Regions from separate parts of the Homo sapiens genome. Here all the other regions are linked to region 1. The links are contacts of gene promoters, found by promoter capture Hi-C in blood cells and fetal thymus (Javierre and others, 2016). All regions are on one chromosome and are shown on one strand. Each heading gives the region's core, a stretch centred on a gene start or on the middle of the fragment in contact. The rest is flanking DNA. Distances are from core to core; before and after follow the strand shown. Region 1 holds the start of GGT6 (gamma-glutamyltransferase 6). Region 2 holds the start of PELP1 (proline, glutamate and leucine rich protein 1). Region 3 has its middle 5.2 kb from the start of SPNS3.

The links. Contacts are between HindIII fragments. The CHiCAGO score rates a contact against its expected background, and 5 or more counts as called.
Region 2: a contact is called between the fragment with the promoter of PELP1 here and the fragment with the promoter of GGT6 in region 1, in 2 of 17 cell types (M2 macrophages and M0 macrophages). The highest score is 7.1, in M2 macrophages.
Region 3: a contact is called between a fragment that was not itself captured here and the fragment with the promoter of GGT6 in region 1, in 5 of 17 cell types (M0 macrophages, M2 macrophages, endothelial precursors and 2 more). The highest score is 11.5, in M0 macrophages.

Annotation. Positions count from the first base shown.
Region 1 is chr17:4,558,091-4,561,897 of GRCh38, forward strand. GGT6 (gamma-glutamyltransferase 6) reads right to left here and starts at 2,487. Exons shown (of 4, transcript NM_001288702.2): 1 at 2,292-2,487; 2 at 1,468-1,670; 3 at 1,253-1,366; 4 at 1-967. The coding sequence starts at 2,431. The HindIII fragment of the contact is 2,996 bases long and covers 2,374-3,807 here.
Region 2 is chr17:4,702,301-4,706,107 of GRCh38, forward strand. It overlaps PELP1 (proline, glutamate and leucine rich protein 1), which reads right to left and starts at 1,837. Exons shown (of 17, transcript NM_014389.3): 1 at 1,563-1,837. The coding sequence starts at 1,811. It overlaps PELP1-DT (PELP1 divergent transcript), which reads left to right and starts at 1,930. Exons shown (of 2, transcript NR_103482.1): 1 at 1,930-2,070; 2 at 2,899-3,229. It also overlaps the pseudogene RPS12P29. The HindIII fragment of the contact is 30,411 bases long and covers 1-3,807 here.
Region 3 is chr17:4,426,872-4,430,678 of GRCh38, forward strand. No RefSeq gene overlaps it. Among named protein-coding and RNA genes, the nearest start is that of SPNS3, 5.2 kb to the right of the region's middle. The HindIII fragment of the contact is 9,473 bases long and covers 1-3,807 here.

The sequences.
Region 1 (3,807 bases), core at 1,237-3,736:
AGCAGGGTCCCTTGGCCACAAGTGCTGGGATGCTCTGTTGGTTCTTGCTGACCCTGATGCTGGTGCTGGGCCTGGGTAGGGGGCCTTGCTGCCAGATGCCTGAGTAGGGTGTGAGTCATGGCCCTGGCCACATCAGGGGTCCCTGAAGCCACAAGCCCCAACACATCAGCCTCTGTGTCATCCAGGCTGCCACGGAGGATGAGGGGGCAGGCCCAGGCACTAGTGGTAGACTTGGCCACCAGGTTGCTGAGCAGAACCCCAGTGCTTGGGGACAGGTGTGCAGAGCCAAAGGAGCAGTTGAGCGAGGAGGTGAGAAGGAGCACAGAGCCGCTGCTGTCCACGGCGGCCAGGGCACTGCTCTCGGGGCTCACAGCAGTCTGCAGGAACGGTGGGCAGGGGTCAGGGATGGGCGCCCCGGAGCGCAGGGCTGCCTCCAACAGTGCCAGCAGTTCTGGGCCAGCTGAGGGACTGGGGGTGGTGAACAGGATGCCCTGGGGCACAGGTAGCTGCTCTGCTGGTTCCAAAGTGGGCCTGGGCACAGCCGAGGGCACCTCCACCCCCAGGTCTCCCGCCAGTAGACTCAGTAGAGCATCCCCAGCAAGGTCTGAGGTGGGAGCGAGGGCTGCGCTGCGAAGCACAGCTGCCAGTTGTGGGTTGGTGGCTCGGGCCCCAGCGCCCAGGGGTGTCCCATCAGCATGGCAAAGTAGTGGACAGAGGCCTTCTGTGCCCCGAGCCACCAGAGCCCTTGCCAGGGGTGTGTCCACCAGGAAGCCCTCCTGAGCCAGCGTGGTGGGGCCCACTAGCAGGCGTGGCCAGGGCAGGCGGCCGAAGCGTGCATGCAGCAGGTGCAGGGTGGGCAGAGCCGCGGGCAGCCCCAGGCCGGGGGCCAGGGTCTGTGCTGGGCCTGATGTCAGGGCCGTGGAATTGCCTGAGGAGCTATCGTGGAAGAGGCCCCAAAACATGGCACCTGCAGGAGACAGAGGGGTCCCTCAGCAGCCGCAGGTCAAGGGTCACTGACTTGTTTCAGTCAAGATCCCTTGACTGAGCCTGGGATCAGGAGTTACTGACCAGGCCTGAGGTCAAAGTTCCACAGACCCGGGCTCAAGGGTCATAGCCTGGGGTTGGACTGCTGCCCAAACCCTAAGTCCTGCTCACTTAGCAGTCTTGAGGTCAGTGCTACTGACTCCCTAAGTTCCAGGTCACTGATCAGGCTGTGGGTTGGGGTTGCAGTCTGGGGTCAGGGGTCACTGACCTAGCCCCGTGGCATGAGGATGCACCACTGCCAGGCACAATGCAGCTCCAACTCCAGCATCCACGACGTTGCCCCCGGCAACAAGCAGCTCTCGGCCTAGGTGGGAGCATGTGGCTGCAGCAAGGAAGGCACTGTCATGCAGCAAGGAGGGGGGCTAGGCTGGGCTGGTGACCCCTGACCCTCCCCTCCCCAAGCCGCCCCCAGCACTGACTGACCTGCAGGGCTGATGATGGCACCGTGGTGGTATACGCCAGGGCCGTGGGAGTGTCCGCCGGGTGGAGGGGCCACAGAGCCCAAGCTTCCTGTCGACCTGCCCTGATTCTGGAGCTGCCTCACAGCCAGGGAGCAGCCAACAGCCAGCAGCAGCAGGGCTGCCACTACACGGGCCCAGGTTCCGGGCAGCCCGCCAGCCTTGTTCCTGCAGAGGGGGGGTGTCCTGAGCCACGGCTGGGACAGAGGGATGCCCAAGGACCCCAAGAGACCCCAGGGAATATTTCCCAAAAGGTTTGATTTAGCAAGAGGAGCACAAGTCAGCCAAGGAGAAAGGGCTTCTTGGCAGCGGGTGCATCTTGGGCAGACATGGGGATGGGAAAGCATCTGGGGAAACTGAGCCTAGCTAGGGAGGGAGCCTCTGGAGGGGAGATTGGTGGGGCAGAGTCCACTCAGGTGGGAGGGAGGCCCAGTGGGGTGTGGCAGGCAGGAGAGAAGGGGCTGGGGAGCAGGCCCAGCCAGGCGTAGTCAGGCCCCAACCTGCCCAGCAGGTGCCTCCTGCACCAGGACTTGGGGGCTGGGGACCTTTGACAAAGCAGCAGATGGGACAGAGGCTGGCTTGGTACAAATGTCCCTCCAGATGCACAGACTTTTGATTGGGTCAGGCCAAGTCTCGGGCTACAGCCTGGGTTTTCCCCCAAATTGACCGTACAGTGCCTGGAGCTAAACCCAGCGGGGAGTCGCCTGGTCCCCCTGAGGGGCTCCAGAGAGAGGGACTTGCCAACCTCAAGCCTGGGGAGCCTGGTGCCCAGACCCCTCCCTTACTTACCTGGAAGAGTCCTGGTGCCTCCGGGGGTTTAGAACCAGCGCCTCTGATGTCTCCTCCTCCTCCACTTCCTCCTCCGACTCCAAGCTTGGCTCCCAGGGCAGCAGCTTCTGATAGACCACGGGCTCTTCTGCCCGCTCCATGGCCCCCCAGTGCTCGCCCCAGCCCTCCTGCCTGCCAGCCTTTCCGGCTGTGTCTCAGAGGCCCTGCCCAAGCCTGGCAGGTGGGAGGTGGCAGCGACCTTGGGGAAGGGTGGGGGTGGAATCCAGAACAGGTCTGGGCAGGGCACGGGGCCAAGGAGGCTGCATGTGAGCCTGCCCCATTAGGACACAAGGCCCGAGGAGCTCTCGCGACAGGGTTCCCGGGGTGACTGCCTGTAAGGGGCCACAGCTCAGTGAGGTCGAGAAGGAGTTCAGCCTTAATGCCACAACCTTGATACTCAGGGCACCTGCTGGGCTCCTCCCCTTGGGGGATGTAGCCCATGGATCCCACCCACCTGGGACTCTAGGGACTGTGGACTTGAATTAGAGCTACGGTTTCACGGTGGCTTGGGTCAGAGCTCCCACGTGCTTGAGTCTGCACGTGACTAGGTTCTGGCGTAGGGGTGTCTGGTCTCTGGCCGGGGTCAAGGCTCAGCCTGTGGCTACTCTGGGTCTGGGTTTCTTTGAGGAGCAACTTGGTTCGTAACTCCCTGTGCGTGTTTTGCGACTCTTGTCCAGAAGGTAGCGCCACAGCCTGGAAACCAACATTTCTAAATTCATTCTGGGATTCCCATCAAGGACTTGTTGCAAAACAGTGCTGTTTGTAACAGTCCCAAATTGGAAAGTGCCCAAACATCCATTATCGTTAGAATGAATGATGTAAGTCACAATGGACCACTCTGCAGCAAAGAGAGTGAGTGATCTACAATTATATGCAATAATATACACAGGTCTGACAAGCATAAGGACGAGGGAAAGCAGCCAGGCAGGAGACAGCGCACGCTATATGCTTTCATTTACACAAAGTACACAAACAGGCAACAACAAAAGAGCAACAACAGTCTGCCCTTAGAAGTCAGATAGTGACTGGAGGAGGTACCAGGGGGTTTCTGGAATGCTGGAGATGTCCTTTCTTTCCTTCCTTTCTTTCCTTTCCTTTTTCCTTTACCTTTCTTTTCTTTCTCTTCTTTCTTTCTTGACAGAGTTTTCATTCTTGTTGCCCAGGCTGGAGTGCAATGGTGCAATCTCAGCTCACTGCAACTTCCACCTCCTGGGTTCAAGCAATTCTTCTGCCTCAGCCTCCCGAGTAGCTGGGATTACAGGCACATGCCACCACGCCTGGCTAATTTTTTGTATTTTTAGTAGAGACAGGGTTTCACCATGTTGGCCAGCCTGGTCTTGAACTCTTGACCTCAGGTGATCCGCCCGCCTCAGCCTCCCAAAAGTACTAGGATTACGGGTGTGAGCCACCGCGCCCGGCCGAGATGTTGTTTCTTAATCTGAGTGTTGGTGACACGAGTGCCCTGGGTGTGAAAATG
Region 2 (3,807 bases), core at 587-3,086, 140 kb after region 1:
CCCAGCTACTCTGGAGGCTGAGGTGGGAGGATCCCTTGAGGCTGGGAAATGGAGGTTGCAGTGAGCCAAGATCATGCCACTGCACTCCAACCTGGGTGACAGAGTAAGACCTTGTCTCAAAAATAATAATAATTCTGGGACTATTGTGAGATAAAGAAAACAGAAAAACCCCACTGTAATATAACTGACTGATGAAAACCACATAAATTAGAAGAGGGGAATTTAGAGACAAGAGAAAATACATAATCAGCTCCAGCCTCTGATATTGGGCTGAGATAGCAGAGATATAGTTTTGTCACCCTCAATTATGCAGAGTAATGTTAAAGACAAACAGATAGGGTTATCTGTGATAAATCTGGGGCTAAGGTTATTGACCCACCCAGCAAATTGTGACAACCATCTTCCTGGAAGGTAGCATAGAGCTAGGAAGGTCCCAGGAATGAAGGGTGGACACAGAAGATCTCGTGTTTATGGGTCTTGAAGGATGGGTAGAATTTGGGGGAGGTTTAGTGGGAGAGAAGGGAAGATAGGAGATTGTTATAAGGAGCAGCTATTATGGGCTAGAAATATGCCTTCTTAGAATCAGTGCCTTCACCCGGACAAGATGGTGGGGGTTCAAGCTAGAATGGGAGCAATGAGAAAGATGGAAAAGAGTGGACAGATCTGAAAACTACTCAAAGGATAAAATCAACAGGACTTGACAGATTGCTTATGGAGGTGTATGAAGAAGAGTTTAGAATTACTTGAGTGTCTAGCTTGCAGAACTGAATGGTTATCAGATTCCATTCTTATAGAAGTCCAAAGGCTCCTAACCCGGCCTAAAACGCTCTGCATGACCCGACCACTGCCTACCCATCTCACCAGTCTCATCTGTACCCACTCTCTTCCCCTCCACATCTGAGCCCCAGGAACGATGCCCTTCTTTCCAGTTCCTTCCTACCACAGGGTCTTCCCACATGAGCTCTCCTCTGACTGAACAGCCCCTCCCATATTTTTTCCCTACCCAACCCCTATTCATCCTTAGGGTCTCAGCTTAAACGCCGGTTTCTTTGGAAAAATCTCTGCCAGTCTTCAGATAAGGTTAGAGACCCCTGATATTCAATTCTCATCTTGTTTCGCAGCATTTTGTGTATCGCCACCACGTCTGTAACCGGAGCGCCTAGTACAGTATCTGACCCTCAATAAGAGCTCGGTAAATGTTTATTGTTGAATGCGTCATTCAGTCAGTCGAAACAATCCCCGAAACAGATATTGCCAGAGGAAAAAGAGACTTTTAGATTATACAACTAGTGAGTGACCGGGCCTGGAACCTAATCGATTCCTGTGTGCCGACCAATAGCCTAACAACAGAAAAATAAGGCCCATTTTTCCCCTGGAGAAACTCATGGCCGATAAAGGAGAAATACGTGCATCCCGTCCGGACTGATACCTGGATCCCCTTTCTGCCCGCAGCTCTCCTTCCTTCAACCTCCCTATCGCACTTGCACTGCACCGTAATCCCGGCGCACAGGTGCCGCGCCATCCTCCCCACAGGGCCGCGGGCACGCGGGCCACGGACTCACCTGGGCCCCGCCCACCGACCCATGCAGCCGCAATAGGCACATGAGCCCGGGCAAATGTGGGGCCGAGCGGTTTGGGGGATGCACCGGAGCAACGGCAGACCCCGTTCGAGGTTGCAGCAAACCAGAAACACTCTCCAGCAGCAGCAGGCGGAGCCGCGGGCCCGAGCTCACTGCCGAGAGACCCCCGGTCCCGCCAGGAACCCCAGCCGCGGAGCCCGCAGAGGGCCCACTCAGAACGGCTGCCGCCATCTTCCCCCGGGTTCCAGTGGTGGCGTGGCGCGATGACGCAAACACACCGCGACGGCCGCCTACTGGGGAGGGGGCGTGGGGAGGGGGCTGCGGTCTTGCGCACTGAGTGAAGGCAGGCTGGACTCGCGGGCTCAAGCTGGGAAGGAGCATGCGCGGAGAGAGCAGCCTGGGCGCCGAGGCAGCGGGGTGCTCGGTTCCCGGAGTGATGGCGGATGAGGCTGCCTGTGAGCGTGTCCGAGGCGGTCCTGTGATGTTAAAGGTACACGTGGTCCGGACAAAAGGCGCCAAAGTCGGAACGATTTCCATTTAGCGGACGGAGTCTTGGGACATCTTCGCTGTAGGAATCAATAACTCTCATTTTTTTTTTTTGAGACGGAGTCTCGCTCTGTGGCCCAGGCTGGAGTGCAGTGGCGCGATCTCGGCTCACCGCAACCTCCACCTTCCAGGTTCAAGCGATTTCCCTGCCTCAGCCTCCCGAGTAGATGGGATTACAGTCGCGCGCCACCACGCCCGGCTAATTTTTTTTGTATTTTTGTAGAGATGGGGTTTCACCATGTTGGCCAGGATGGTCTTGAACTCCTGACCTCAGGTGTTCCGCCCGCCTTGGCCTCCCAAAGTGCTGAGATTACAGGCATGAGCCACCGCACCCTGCCTAGGAATCAGTAACGTGTGTGTGTGTGTACGCGCGCCAAAGATTTATTTCTTCATTTCTTGCATTTCAAGTACTCTTCGATGTCATCCTTGGCCTGAGACTCCTTGCCATAGTCCTTAACTACTACACAACTGCAACCAACCACTTTACGGGGTTTCCCCTCTCTGTCGATTTTTACAGAGCCCTACCCATTCTCCTAGTTTCTTGTTGTCATCAACCTTAATTAGGTTGATTTGGTGTTCAGCACAAAGGCCTCCACCAACTTGACATACATAGTAGGCTCATCATAGTTGGATGCAAGCACACAAAGATGGGCTTGGCGTTTGTCTAAGGCTTTGGCAGCTTCGCGAATTCCACGTGCTAGGTCATGGTGGATGAGAGCGGTCTTCAGCACCTCTTGTGAAGCAGTATTAACATCCATTACCCCTCCAGCAGCAATGCCTTCCTCGGCCGTGGCGGTGGGTTACAAGTGAAGCTGAATCTTGAAGGTACCCAAGCCTCCGCCTCCGCGCAACTCGGCAGCGGCAGGGAAAGAGAAGGAATCAATAACTCTCTAGGTAACTTGAAATCACAGACATTTTTAACTACATTTGCAACTTCAGAAATGATACAAGACGTGCGCCTTGCAAAAGCCAATTCAAACAGTACAGAAAGGCATAAAGTAAAAAGAAAAACTGCTCCTCCCCCGCAAAGCCCTGCCCCAGTAGCGTGTATACTTTCCTAATATTAGTCTATGCACAAGCACATAAATGAATATTTTACAAGATTGGGGTCTGCGTGTGGCTTGTTTTCACTCATGGCCTTCTTTATGCTGTTTTTTAAACTGTGGTATGAATGAAATGGGTGCACCATGATTTAATAATTCTATTGCTGAATTAATGCTTAAAGGCTGCTCCAGCTTTTTGCTAATGCAAACTGTAGTGAACACGCTAATACCTCTATGTTTATGTTTGTGTACTTTTGTGATTGTTAGATTCAAATCCAAGAGTCATCATTTTTCTTTTTTTGAGGAGTCTCTCTGTCGCCCAGGCTAGAGTGCAATGGCACGATCTCGGCTCACTGCAACCTCCGCCTCCCAAGTTCAAGTGATTCTCCTACCTCAGCCTCCCAAGTAGCTGGAAGTACAGGCACCCACCACCATGCCCAGCTAATTTTTGTATTTTTAGTAGAGACGGGGCTTCACCATGTTGGCCAGGCTGGTCTCAAACTCCTGACCTCAAGTGATCTGCCGGCCTCAGCCTCCCAAAGTCCTGGGATTACAGGTGTGAGCCACCCCACCTGGCCCGTTTTTCCTCTTATTGCCTCCTATCCAATCCTTCAAGTCCTGGCATTCAAGGCCTCCAA
Region 3 (3,807 bases), core at 805-3,304, 130 kb before region 1:
CCACCTTCTCCTCATGCACTCACACTTGTGGATGTAGCTCTGCCCACTACTCTTTGGCTCTGAGGGCAGGGGCTGAGAACAAAGTTTCATCTACATGTGCTGGGGAAAACCCCATTATATTTAACACTCACAATACTTCCTCCATACCAAGCATAGTTCTAGGCACTTTTCAAACATCATCGTATTCAAGCCACAACAGTCCCATGAGGTGTGTACTATTTTTATCCCCATTTTATTTGTTTTATATTTATTTATTTTCAAGACAAGAGTCTTACTCTGTCGCCCAGGTGGGAGTGCAGTGGTGCGATCACGGCTCACTGCAGTCTTGATCTCCTGGGCTCAGGTGATCCTGGGATTACAGGCATGCACCACCATCCTTGGCTAATTTTTGTATCTGTATTTGTATTAAAAATTTTTTTTTTTAGTAGAGACGGGGTTTCACCATGTTGGTCAGGCTGGTCTCGAACTTCTGACCTCAGGTGATCCACCCGCCTCAGCCTCCCAAAGTGCTGGGATTACAGGCGTGAGCCACCGCGCCCGGCCTTAATTTTTACATTTTTAGTAGAGACGGGGTTTCGCCGTGTTGCCCAGGCTGATCTCCAACTCTGAACTCAAGCGATCTGCCTGTCCTGGCCTCCCAAAGTAATGGGATGACATTCACGAGCCACTGTGCCTGGCCATCCCCATTTTGTAGGTGAGAAAATTGAGATGGAGAGAGGTTGAGTGATCTGCCTGAGATCCTATGGCCAGTGAGCAGTGAGTCTAGCTGCGGAGTACAGGTTCTGAAGCAGGATGCGAGACCGCCTGCACGTGCGCATGGATGATCTTGAACTTCCCCTTCATTCACCAACTGTAGACCCCATGTGGGTGGTCACCGAGACGGTATGCGGCTGAACCAGGCAGTGGATGCCAAGGACCTCGTCATCATCGTCACCACCACAATAACAATACTCTACACTCTGTTTGTCACATGACAAGCTCTATGTTGGAAACAGTATGTGTATCTATATTAGTTCATCCTCACAATTAACCCCTGAAACATCGTCATATTATTCTCTTTTTAAGACTTACTGAGTCTTGCTCTTGTTGCCGAGGCTGGAGTACCATGGCGCAATCTCGGCTCACTGCAACCTCTACCTCCTGGGTTCAAGTGATTCTCCTGCCTCAGCCTCCCGAGTAGCTGGGATTACAGGCATGCACCACCACGCCCGGCTAAGTTTTTATATTTTTAGTAGAGACGGGGTTTCACCATGTTGGCCAGACTGGTTTCAAACTCCTGACCTCAGGTGATCTGCCTGCCTTGGCCTCCCAAAGTGCTGGGATTACAGGCATGAGCCACAACGCCCAACCCATCTTATTATTCTCTATCACAAATGAGAACACTGGTTGGGCGCAGTGGCTCGTGCCTTAATCCCAGCACTTTGGGAGGCCGAAGCAGGCAGATCACCTGAAGTCAGGAGTTCGAGACCAGCCTAGTCAGTATGGCGAAAGCCTGTCTCTACTAAAAATACAAAAAATTATCCAGGCGTGGTGGCTCACGCCTGTAATCCCGGCACTTTGGGAGGGCGAGGCAGGCAGAACACCTGAACTCAGGAATTCGAGACCAGCCCAGTCAGCATGACGAAATCCTGTCTCTACTAAAAATACAAAAAATTATCCACGCATGGTGGCTCATGCCTGTAATCTCAGCGCTTTGGGAGGCCAAGGCAGGCGGATCACCTGAAGTCAAGAATTCTAGACCAGCCTGGTCAGCAAGGCGAAAGCCTGTCTCTACTAAAAATACAAAAAATTATCTGGGCATGGCAGTGTGTGCCAGTAGTCCGAGCTATTCGGGAGGCTGAGGCAGGAGAATGGCTTGAACCCAGGAGGCGGAGGTTGCAGTGAGCTGAGATTGCACAGTTGCTCTCCAGCCTGGGGCGACTCTGTCTCTAAACAAGAAAACAAATGAGAACTCGGAGGCTCAGAGAGGTTAGAGACTTGCCTGAGGCACACAACTAGAAAGTAGCAAAATTTGATTTTGAATCCAGGCCGGTCAGACTGTAAAGCTCCTACTTTTTTGTTTGTTTGCTTTAACTTTTTTTTAAAGAAATAGGATCTTGCTGTGTTGCCCAGGTTGTTCTCAAACTCCTGGGCTCAAGCAATCCTCTTACTTCAGCCTCTCAAGTAGCTGAAACTATAGGCACGAGCCATCAAGCCCGGCTTCTTTAATGTTTTTTAAAAATTGAGGTAATTACATTACTTAAAATTGTAACCATTTTAAAGGATATAATTCAGTGGCATTGAGTGGATTCAGAGTGTTGTGACACCATCTCCTCTATCTAGTTTTGAAACATTTTCATCACTCTCCAAGGGGACTGTCTTCCCATTAAGCATTTTCCTCTCCTCTTAGCCTCTAGGAACCATTTACTTTCTGTTTCTGTGACTATACCTGTGCAGGATATTTTCTATAAATGGAATCATACAATATGTGGCCTTTTGTGTCTGGTGTCTTTCACTTAGCATAATGTTTTCTTTTTTTTTTTTTCCGAGACGGAGTCTCACTCTGTCGCCCAGGCTGGAGTGCAGTGGCACAATCTCGGCTCACTGCAACCTCCACCTCCTAGGTTCAAGCCATTGTCCTGCCTCAGCCTTCTGAGTAGCTGGGATTACAAGTGCGGTGCCACCACACCCGGATTATTTTTGTATTTTTAGTAGAGATGGAGTCTCACCTTGTTGATCAGCCTGGTCTCAAACTCTTGACCTCAGGTGATCTGTCTGCCTCGGGCTCCCAAAGTGCTGGGATTACAGGCGTGAGCCACTGTGACCAGCCAGCATAATGTTTTTAAGGTCTATCCGTGTTGTAGCATGAATCAGTACTTCCTTCCTCTTTATGACTGGATACTATTCCATTGTATGATTATGCCACATTTTCTTGACCCATTTATCAGATGGGCGTTTAAGCTGTTTCCACCTTTTGGCTGTTATGAACAGTGCTGCCATGAACATTTATGTACAAGTATTTGTTTGAGTCTTTGTTTTCTTTTCTTTTCTTTTTTTTTTTTCTTTTTTTGAGACAGAGTGACAAAGTTGCTCTGTTGCCCCAGCTAGAGTACAGTGGTCCCATCTTGGCTCATTGCAACCTCTCCCTCCAGGGTTCAAACAATTGTCATGCCTCAGCCTCCCGAGTAGCTGGGACTACAGGTGTGTGCCACTATGCCCAGCTAAATTTTTTGGATTTTTTAGTAAAGACGGGGTTTCACCATGTTGGTCAGGTTGATTTCAAACTCTTTTTTTTTTTTTTTTGAGATGGAATCTCACCCTGTCGCCCAGGCTGGAGTGCAGTGGCGTGATCTTGGCTCACTGTAAGCTCCGCCTCCTGGGTTCATGCCATTCTCATGCCTCAGCCTCCTGAGCAGCTGGGACTACAGGCGCCCGCCACCATGCGCAGCTAACTTTTTGTATTTTTAATAGAGGTAGGGTTTCACCGTGTTAGCCAGGATGGTCTCGATCTCCTGACCTTGTGATCTACCTGCCTCAGCCTCCCAAAGTGCTGGGATTACAGGTGTGAGCCACCGCGCCCAGCCTTGAACTCTTGACCTCAAGCGATCCGTCTGCCTTGGCCTCCCAAAGTGCTGAGATTAGAGGCTCAAAATAGTCTTTGTTTTCAATTCTTTTTTTTTTTTTTTTTTTTTTTGAGACAGAGTCTTACTCTGTCACCCGGGCTGGAGTGCAGTGGTGCAATGTAGGCTCACTGCAATCTCTGCCACCTGGGTTCAAGTGATTCTCCTGCCTCAGCCTCCCGAGTAGCTGGGATTACAGGCGCCTGCC